3 separate regions of the Homo sapiens genome follow, and all the other regions are linked to region 2. The links are contacts of gene promoters, found by promoter capture Hi-C in blood cells and fetal thymus (Javierre and others, 2016). All regions are on one chromosome and are shown on one strand. The core of a region is centred on a gene start or on the middle of the fragment in contact, and the rest is flanking DNA. Distances in the headings are between cores, read along the strand shown. Region 1 holds the start of PANK4 (pantothenate kinase 4 (inactive)). Region 2 holds the start of SMIM1 (small integral membrane protein 1 (Vel blood group)). Region 3 holds the start of GNB1 (G protein subunit beta 1).

Region 1 (3,063 bases), core at 201-2,700, 1.2 Mb before region 2:
GAGAGATGATGACACCAACAACCCCGAGGACACCACAGCAGCAAACATGTCAGATGCACCAGGAGCACACAGCTCAGAGGGAATGGCCTGGGTCTCTCTGAGTCCCAGCTTTTCCAGGGAGGTGGGAAGCAGTCAGCGGCAGGCCCATTCATCCCAGTATTTACTGGGCGGCAAAGACAGGTTGGGCATCCTTTTCGGGGGCTGGGGCTACAAGACACACCGCTGCTCTTGTGGGATTCACACACAAGCAGACTCAGCCTACGACCGAGATGAGTGCTAAGAGGGAGAGGTATGTGAAGCCGCAGCGGCTATTCAAGGGGGGTTTCTCCAGGTGAAGCTGCCCCCAGGAAGCCCTCATGCCTGAAACATGGGCAGAGTAGGAGAGCAGGGAGTGGCTGGTTCAAATCCTGGTTCTGCCACTTTCTAGCCCGATGACCCTGGGCAAATTAGTTCACCTTTCTGGGGCTTGGTATCCTCATCTGCGAAAAGGGAGTAATTCGCGTTCCTCCCCTAGAGGTGGCTGGGAGGTGTCCGGGAGTCAGGAGCGTGGGAAAAAGGTCTAGAACAGAGCCTGGCCCGCCGTCATTACTGAGAGCACAGCCATCAGGCAGGAGGGTCTGCAGCGGACCCTGGAGAGGCCAGGGCAGAAGTGCAGGCCGCCTTAAAGGCCACGGAAGGCACGGGTGGCTTTTAAACCAGAGGCACGAGTTCCCAGGTCCCACGTCCACGGCCGCCTGAACTCACGCCCGGCGTCCACTCTCCAGAGAGCGGGGCCTGTGCACGGACTGTCCGGCCCGCGGGCCACAGCTGGCCACGCCGCGGGAACGCGCGGCCTTTTCGGGGCCACTCTGCCAAGGGCTTCCCGCCGAGCTCGTCCTCGTCTCGACCAGAACTAAGGACCCCAAATCTCAGGCCAGCCACCAGCCAAGCGGCGGAGCCGGGGCGCCCAGATGCCGATGTGGCCGAAGACATAAAATTCCGCCGACCCTCCCACCTCGCGGCGGGTAACGCTGGACCCCGGCCCCCAGCCACCCAGGACGGCCGCGCGAACTACCAGGCCCGGCAGGCCCCGCTCTGGTCCCTGCGGCGCCTGCCGGTAGCTGTAGTCCGGCCGTCGCCCCGAGCCCGCGCATCAGCGACCCTGCGGACTACAAGGCCCGTGAGGCTGTGCGCGGGCCCGCGGACTACAAGGCCCGTGAGGCTGTGCGCGAGGCCCGCGCCCCCGCCCTTCGTCCTTCCCGCCGCCCCCGCTCGCCGGCCCACCGCCGGCGCCCCGCCCGCCCCCGCAGCCCGCGCCCGGCGCCCGGCCTGCGGCTACCTATGTCGATGGCGAAGCGCTTGGCGTTCTCCAGGTTGCGGAAGATCTCGTCGGGGGGCAGCGTGATGCTCTTGTCCAGACTGTCCCCGCTGCTCCCGCTGCCGCTCGCTCCACACTCCGCCATTTTGAAAGTGCCCGGCCAGCTCATCAGCCATGGAGATATATGCGCATATATTTGACTGCCAAACGCCCCCTCGCATAGATTATGTTAATGAGGCGCCGGCCCCGCCCCTTCCCTCCCCCACCCCCGGCCTCTGAGGTCTCGGCCGCTACAGGGCGAGCTAGGGCCAGTGCTGGGCAGGGGTCCGAGAGGCCCGGGGCTGCGGGCGGGCGGGCGGTTATCCTCCAGAGATCGCGCATCAGCACAGAACATCTGGACTGATGTTCTTTTACCGCGCTGTCCACAGGCTTAACTCAAGTGCTCTGAGCCCTGCTGAGGGAGGCCGCAGAGGCCGCCCACCTGCTTCTAAGGGGGCACGTGGGTCTGCAGACTGTCAGAGAGCCCTGCCCTTCAGCGAGTGCCTGCTGTAAGCTTGGCCCTGCACGCCAGGGCGAATGTGATGCGCTCTTTGCTAGGGTGACTCAATCCTGGCTTCCCAGGGGCGTGGGACTTTCAATGTTAAAAGTCCCATGCAAACCAGAGGAGTGGGGAACCCTGCCCCACCTGGGAGGAGCCCCAGCCTGGCATGCACCTGCGGGTAGGGAAGATGTGTGCTGTAATGGCGATCCGTGGAAAGTGCTGTGGTCGGGGGAAGCCAGGCAGGCTGCCTGTGGGCAAGACAGGTGCCTGGGAGGCTGCAGGAACAAGCCTTGGAAGCAGCTGGAGCCAGGACAGGGGTATAGGTGGGGCAGGCCAGGGTTCCAGGGTGAGTGGCTGGGAAGCCCTGCTGGCATGAAGAGATGCGTCTTCTCCAGAGGCTCTGGGCGCCTTGGGAAAAAGCCCAGTGTTGGAAGCAGACAGATCAGCCCCTCCCGGGTAACCCGGGGTCATTACTGCATGTCTCTGGCCCTCAGCCTCTGTCTGCACGTGGAGAATGCCACCAGCTGCCTGGCAGGGCTCCTGGGAGCACAGGCCTGTGGGGCGGCACAAACTCCAGGGATAATGCATCTGTGTGCGCAGGGCAAGCCTTCAGGGAGGAGGCATCCTTGCCTGTGTCTTCCAAGGGGGTGGGTGTGTGGCTCTGGAGGGGGAGCCTGCCCCAGGGAGGCCTGGGTGGAAGAGTGGAGCACACCCCAGGCGGCTTAGACCTCTGGCAGCTCAGACCCCTGGCAGCATGGTGTGCCATGGGCCAGGCTGGCAGGAGGTGCCCTCCATGAGGGGCGCCCACCTGTGTGCCCACTGAACATGCGGGAAACATGCAGGTGAATGGGGGCCTTCCCTGTCCTCTGCCCACCATACCCCGGGGCTCGGTAGGGACCACTGGCAGGCACTGGGTTGGTCTGGTGGGGGGACCCTGTCTAGACTGCCTGTGGAGTAGCCAGAAAGGGGCTGAAGGCTGAGCGGAGCGAGAGGGGCTGAGCAGGAAGGAGCAGGCAGGGCAGGCCCACACACGGGGCTACCATTCAGCGGGGGTGGGAATGCGGCCCACTCCGGCCCAATCCTTGCTGGATGGATTTTGCCCCTTGGGAGCTGGTCCCTGGGAGCCACAGGCCTCAGTTCTTGCAGACTCAGCCAACACCCTGTGGCCTGCCTAAAAATACATGCCCTTTCTGAGGCAAGGGATGGCCCCGTGCAGGCTCCTGCC
Region 2 (3,295 bases), core at 256-2,755:
TGTAAGTATTCACCAGCACACCCCTGCTGCAGCAAGCCTCTCTGGAGGAGGAGGAGAGGGTGGCGTCCCGGGCAGCTGGCACGGACTGTGCAGACCGGCCTCAAGGCCAAGGTGAGGAACTGGGAAGGCCACCTCGACGGCTGTGTTTCTTGTGTAGAGAATTATCTCAGAGAGAAGCGACTACTATAATCAGCTGAAGCAGAAAGGCGTCAAAGTGCCCCCCCTGCAACAGTCAGAGGCCTTCCTGACCAGCAAATCCAAGAAGGGGACCTCCAAGTAGGCCCAGCCAGGCCCCCAAATACGGTCAGCCCAGCAGAGGCCGGGGCCCAGCTCCAGAACCACCCGCCCCCACCATGCGTCCTGCTCTCAGACTCAGAATTAAACCCCGGTGTTGGCACTGTCCCACCTTTTTCTTCTCTGGGATCCACGCGGGGGCCTACTCTCCTCTGCGACCTTGAGCTACAAGGACACTCCCCATTCCAAAGCTCACTCACAGGGAGTCAGCACACCAGCCTGTGCCCCTAGCTCCTAACAGGTCCCCTTGCGGCACCAGGCTGCCAGAGGCCTGAGCCGGGGTGTCCGCCCAGCACTCAGCACAGACCTCACGCCTGAGCAGAAGGGGTCTGTGACCTTCTGCCCTGGGGGCTCTCCTGGCTGGGGCACTCTCTTGCTGGAGGACCCCTCTGGAAGATGGTGAGGGTGGGGGGCTCTGTTCCCATCCCCCCGCTCCTGGAAGGAAAGCTTTACGCACGGGAACGGTGTCTGTGGTCCCCGACGCTTCCCCGGCGCCTCTGAGGCTCTGGGCGCCTGAACACCTTCGGAAGGGACTCTCCCCATTACCCTTCTCTGCTCCCCACCCACACCTGCTTCCCTTCCCGCCGCGAGCACCGAGCGTGGGCCACGTGCGGGCGCCACGCCCCTCAAGCCCCGGAGGAGGACGGTCCCCGCGGCCGGGTCCCCGAACCCAGCATTCAGGCCCAGACGCGCCCAGAGCCTCCCGCAGTCTCGTCGGCGCTGCAGCCGGGTCCCCGCGGGGCTGGGAGGCTCGTGGCGTCGGAGGGGCTCCAGCAGGGGTGAAGGAGGTCGGGGACCCTGGAGGCCCCAAGGGCGAGCCGTCTGGGGGCAGAAAGTGCAGCCCTCTGCAGACCCTGCCCGGCCCCCCTGCACCTCCTGGCCCCGGGGCTGGGCGGCCTAGAGCCCCGGCCCCTTCCGGACGAGGCGTCTCCCGGCCCCACTCGCCCCGCCCCCAGCCCCTTCTGGACCAGGCGCCTCCCCGCTGCGGCCCTAGCCCTTCCCCGCATGGCCCCGCCCCCCTCTCGCCCCGCCCCCTCTCGCCCCGCCCCCGGCCCCTTCTGGACCAGGCGCCTCCCCGCTACTGGCCCCAGACCTTCCCCGCATGGCCCCGCCCACCACTCTAGCCCCGCCACCTTCCGGACCAGACACCTCCCCGCTGCTGGCTCCAGCCCTTCCCCGCGTGGCCCCGCCCCCGCCCTCGCCCCCTGCCCAGGCCCGGCCCCTGCGGAGCCCAGAGACGCGGGGACACAGGTGAGGCGCGCGGGGTCCGGGCTGCGGCTTCCCGGTGCGGCCGCAGTGGGCAGGTGCGACTGTGCGCGGCCTCGCTGGCTGAGAACTGGCGGGGGTGGGGGCGTGCCCTGGACTGACCCCCACCGGCCTAACCCGCGGTGCGGGGCCAGGGCCGGAACTGCCCGCCCGGCTCCTTGCCCGGCTCCTTGTGGCTGCTGGGGACCCCCGACACCAGCCACTTTCCCTTCCCGGCCCTTAGCAAGATCGGCTTCTCCGGTCACCTTTATTTTTTTAGGCTCGAGGCGTCTGCCGCACCTCAGCCCACGACCTGCCCCGCTGGGAGGTGCGGGCCGCTGGCCAGGCCCTGACCGCAACCTGGCCCAGAGGCCCCAGCCCTCAGGCAAGGTTCTCCGGGTAAGTGTGGGGCCCTGAGGCGCTGTGGGGTGAAGAGGTCTATGGAGGGGCGCCTGTGTACCTAGGGCCTTCCTGCACTCACAAGCCCCCAGGAGGTGCCAGGATCCGGGAGCCTCCCAGGGCCTGGAGGGGAGTCCCTGATGGGTTCCTGCCGCCACACCTGTGACCATCACATGAGTGTGGAGAGACGTTTACTGAGCAAGTGAGGGAGGCCAGCCTCAAGGGCCGGCTCTGGTGGCTGTGCACCGGGGTGACTTGGGAACAACGTGTTCTACGTCAGCAAGACAGGAACCCATGATCCCAGAGTTGAACACACTGGGCTTGACCCCTCCCACCGGGAGGCCCATGGTGGGCTGCTGCTGTGGACTTGGAGCCTCAGCACTCCCGAGACTAATGCTGCGTGGATGTCGGGTTGCAAGGCGGCTGCTGCAGCTCCAGCAGCTCCAGCCATCACGTCGAGTCTGGAAGAAGGAGGTGGCTGCTGCTGCTTTCACAGAAGCAAACTCTCCCATCCCCTGCTGCACCCTGGCTCCTGGACCCCAGCTGGGTGACTTGGGAAAGCAGGGGTGGTGGTATTAAGCTTGTCTTACCCGGGTCATGGCTGTTACCTGGGGCTGGCACATTGCTGCTGGGACCAGAATGGGATTCTGCACACCAGGCAAGAGGGCGTGAACCTCGGGTAGGCAGCTGACCGCTCCACATGCTCCGGGAAAACAGCACCCATACTCCAGTAGAGGCTGGGCCTCTCCGGGCCTGAGTGCCAGGCTGCACTGAGCCAGGGCTCCCACCGAAGGCACACTTTATGGCTTTGAGACAGCTCCTTCTGCCTCTCTGGGCTTTGGGGGAAGGCAGACATGGAAGTGCCGGGAGTCTCAGAACTGCCTGGGGCCTGAGTTTCTGAGCTGGCTTCTTGCAGGGGAGTGGCTGCTGTGCCTTTAGGCCTCTGTGCCGATGACCTGGGAGGAAGGTCAGCCTTCCCCGCTGGAGGGGGCCCAGCAAAGCCTCAGCTCCTAGAAGTGAGGGGCCTGCCATTGCCTGCCCGAGGACCCCACTCCTGGGGGCCAGATGCTGAGAGGGGACACTGGGGGCCCAGCAGACCAGAGAGCTGACCCCAGTCCCACAGCCTGGGTGGGTTGTCAACTTCTCGTGCCCCCTCCAACTCCTCCACCCCCACACCCCCTTAGGTAAATAGGAGGTCGAAACAGAGGCCAGAGGGTAAAGGAGGTGCTTAGAGTCCGGGCTGGCTCAGGCCGGCCGGGCAGCTGTGCTAGTGCTTGGAGTTCCTGCTCAGTCCCCGTGGTCTCCTCGCCCCTCTGGGCACTTGGGCTGCCAGGCACCGAGCTGAGTGCCGAGATGC
Region 3 (3,350 bases), core at 789-3,288, 1.9 Mb before region 2:
ATAGCATGAAAATTAAAACCTTACTTTCAATAAAGAGCTCCTCCCTCTCCCAAAAGACTATCACTTCAGATTAGAAAATAACTTATGCAAAAACCTTATCAATAACAATGCTTGCTCCAAAGACCTTATTCAGTATGCAGTTCACTGAAACTTTCCACAAAACTAATACGTCCATTTGCTAATCATGAAAAATAATCTTCATATTTTCTTAATTAATAATCTCACCAGCAACTGCTTAATCACCTAATACTATTTGAGACTAATGTTATCAGATAGATAGCAACATGAAAATACAATGAACCAATGCTCCCCAAAAGAAAACCATAGGTTACCATTTCTACACTATTTACCCATAAGTCCAGTACTGTACACCCTAACTGTAAATGTACACCAACTCCCTTTTCAAAACACAAATTTTAACATCGGCGTTTTCCTTCAGGAGCCCATTTCACAATCTTAAGAAAAAGCTTCCATGAAGACAGGCTGGGCACGGTGGCTAAGGCCGCTAATCCCAGCACTTTGGGAGGCTGAGGCGGGAGGATCGCTTGAGCCCCAGAGTTCGAGACCAGCCTGGTTAACAGGATCTCTTTTACAAAGAGATCCCATCTCTTAAAAAAAAAAAAAAAAAAGGCTTCCATGAAGATGAATTAAGCAAACAAAAGCTGATACTGCTTCTGCATGCTAACCATGTAATTTAACGGACACAAGAAATGTTAAAATATCATTTGAATCAACTATCGATTCACAAGAAAAAATATAGCAGGTTCTTAAAAGTCAAAAGCCTCAGCCGACAGCCCTGTGGAATTTTCAACAGATCTCCCCACTCCCCACCCCCACCCCGCTTCCAGCCGAAAAGCCGATCCAGGCAAGAGGAAGACACCCAGCCTTTGTGCTATTTCCTGTCCTCTCCCCCACCTTCGGGCCTTCGGAATATCGCAAACCGGGCCCCGAAACTCGGCGCGGCGGCGGCCGCCCCACAAAGGCAGCGGTGGGAGCGCCATCTTGGCGCGGCCACCGGGCCCATTCATTCGCGGGGCCGGGCCGGGGTCCGCGCAACCCTCGAGTCGACACGCGCGGGGCGCCAGCGCCGGACAGACCCGGGCCTCGGCAGGAGAAGGGCGAGGCCACAGCGCGACTGCCTCAGCGGCTCGACACAGCGAAAAGGGCCGAAACCGTTATTTTCCCATTTCCCGACGCCGCGCCCGGCTTCCGCTTTAAATCCCTACTCCGACCGCGGCGCGCGGCCCGGCTTCCCCATTTCATTGTTCCCCTTCCCCACGCTCGCGCCCCGCGGCCGCCCGGCCCTCAAAGTCACCCCGATAGGCGGCCCGCGCGGGGGCTCCGGCCGCCGACACCGCCCCGCCTGCAGGCCCGCCCGGCCTTTGTTCTCGCGCCGCGGGCCCGAGAGCCACGTCCGGCTCCCCACGCAGGGCCCGGCCCCGCCCGACCCGCGCCCCCGGGGCCCCGGCCGCCGCCACGGGAAGCGCCCGCGGCGCACACAACCCCGCACCCCGGTGCCGAAACTCGGCCCCCAGCCTTGGGCCTGGGACCCCGGCTCCTCTCCCTAGACCCCGCCCTCGACCCCGACCCTGCACCCCGAACCTCGGACCCCAGCCCCCGGCCCCCCCTTCGGACGCCGCCCGCCGCACCCGGGCGGGGCAGGAAGACGCGGCCCCGACCGGCGGGTGGGGTGGGGGCGGGGCGGGCGCCCCCAGGGCGGGCGGGTGGACGAACAGGACCCGGGTCCGGGGCTGGGGGCTGCCGCGCTCACCTCAGCGCCCTCGTCGCGGCCTGACGCGCCCACACCGCCGCCTCGGCCGCCGCTCGGCAGGTCGTCGCGCTCGGGCCGCGCTGCGCGCTCCGCGGGCGCTGCGGGCAGGTGCGCGCCGGCGAGGCTCGGTCCAGTCCCGCCGCGGCGGCTGCTCCACTCCCGGCCCCGCTCCCCACTCGCCGCCCGCTCCCGCTCCCGCCGCCGCCGCCGCCGCCTCCGTCCGCCCCTCAGACGCCTCCAGCCATCGGGATGGGCGCGGCGGGCCCCTGCCCGCAGCCTCGGAAAACCCCACGCGCTCGCGTCACCACGCACGCCGCGCGTCGCGCGCGCTCGCCAGGCCCGACGGGCACGCGCACGCCTGTGCGCGTCCAAACCGCATCGGGCCCCGAGCGCGTGTCCGAGCGGCTTAAAGGGGCCGTGCTGCTGCCTTCGGGTACCGCTGCCCCGGGAGACCCCCGGCGGCCCGGCCCTGCGGGGACCGGGCGGGATGGGGACCGGGGCAGTGGACCCTCGGAGTTGGGATGGGGCGGGGGGAACGCGGGCGTGGAGCCCTCCGGGGACAGGGTAAGGTTGGGTAACCGTGGGCGGGGGCTCCTCCAGGGGCGGGGGTGGGGTAACGGCGGGCGGGGGGCACTCAAGCGACAGGGCAGGGGCGGGAAGGCCGCGGGCGGGGGCGGTCCCTCCGGGGACGGGGCGGGTGGGGGCACCGCGGGCGAGATCGCTTCCTGCAGAGGAGGCAACAGGCCCCGCTAGCAGGTCAGGGTCCCGGGCAGGCGCAGGTGCCCCCCGGCCTCTCAAGCAGGGACTGCGGCGAGCTCAGACGCGGCTGACGGGCAGAGACTCGCGCTTGGGCTCAGTGCGTGTGAAGTGGGCCTCGGGCTGCGGAGGAGGGCAGCACCCCGTGGCTCCTCGCGCTGCTGCGAGCAGGGCCGCCTGGCAGGGGCGGGGGCCGGTGGGCGGGAGTGTCGGGGTAAGGCCGCGGACTCCTCCCATGCCGCTGAGCAGTGGACAGCGGGGACTGGAGACCTCCAGGTGAGGAAGGGGAACGAAGTCAAGAAGGCCACATGTCCTGGCTTCCAGGCTTGGTGTCCTCAGAAGCCTCCAGAACGTCCATGGAACCCGCCCCTGCGCCCACCGCCTCCTGCTGTCTTTCCAGCTGAGTTCCGGCTGCCCCTCACCCTCGGCTTCTTCACTCTGCCTCTCCCCAGCCAGCGCCCTGCTCCCCGGTCCTCAACCACCACCTTCCACCTGCCTGGGCCTTCATCGCCTCCGAGCTCCCCTTCCACACCAAACCTGGCGTCCGTTTTCCTCCAGGCCTGCACCAGCACAGCTGAAGGGGAGAGAGACCCAACCTCATCCACTGGGCCTCCCCTCAACCAGGGCCACAACCTCAAGGGGCCATGCCACCTCCAACACCTATTTCCCACCTTCTACTCTCTCCACACCCTGGGACACCACCCGCCTCTCTCAGCTGACGTTTTCCTTCTTGTTTTGTGTGCATGGTGCTTGTGTGAGAAAGTGGACACACAGTAAGTGCGGCTTCCAGATGCGTCCGCCACCTGCCCTCCGTGCCACGCGC

Evidence for each region. The method cuts DNA at HindIII sites, captures the fragments that hold promoters and counts their contacts. A CHiCAGO score of 5 or more calls a contact.
Region 1: the fragment with the promoter of PANK4 here is called in contact with the fragment with the promoter of SMIM1 in region 2 in 4 of 17 cell types (naive B cells, endothelial precursors, erythroblasts and 1 more); the score reaches 6.5 in naive B cells.
Region 3: the fragment with the promoter of GNB1 here is called in contact with the fragment with the promoter of SMIM1 in region 2 in 1 of 17 cell types (erythroblasts); the score reaches 5.0 in erythroblasts.

The regions. Positions count from the first base shown.
Region 1 is chr1:2,525,146-2,528,208 of GRCh38, forward strand. It overlaps PANK4 (pantothenate kinase 4 (inactive)), which reads right to left and starts at 1,451. Exons shown (of 19, transcript NM_018216.4): 1 at 1,319-1,451. The coding sequence starts at 1,442. RefSeq lists enhancers at 1,478-2,198, 2,920-3,063. The HindIII fragment of the contact is 7,457 bases long and covers 1-1,848 here.
Region 2 is chr1:3,771,244-3,774,538 of GRCh38, forward strand. SMIM1 (small integral membrane protein 1 (Vel blood group)) reads left to right here and starts at 1,506. Exons shown (of 4, transcript NM_001288583.2): 1 at 1,506-1,545; 2 at 1,820-1,938. CCDC27 (coiled-coil domain containing 27) reads left to right here. Exons shown (of 12, transcript NM_152492.3): 12 at 158-402. The coding sequence ends at 280. RefSeq lists enhancers at 1-567, 1,854-2,369, 2,370-2,885 and a silencer at 913-1,792. The HindIII fragment of the contact is 1,777 bases long and covers 740-2,516 here.
Region 3 is chr1:1,889,049-1,892,398 of GRCh38, forward strand. GNB1 (G protein subunit beta 1) reads right to left here and starts at 2,039. Exons shown (of 12, transcript NM_002074.5): 1 at 1,772-2,039. It overlaps GNB1-DT (GNB1 divergent transcript), which reads left to right and starts at 2,132. Exons shown (of 2, transcript NR_168264.1): 1 at 2,132-2,335; 2 at 2,852-3,350. RefSeq lists an enhancer at 1-51 and silencers at 1,354-1,543, 2,104-2,293, 2,414-2,513, 2,574-2,823. The HindIII fragment of the contact is 9,511 bases long and covers 466-3,350 here.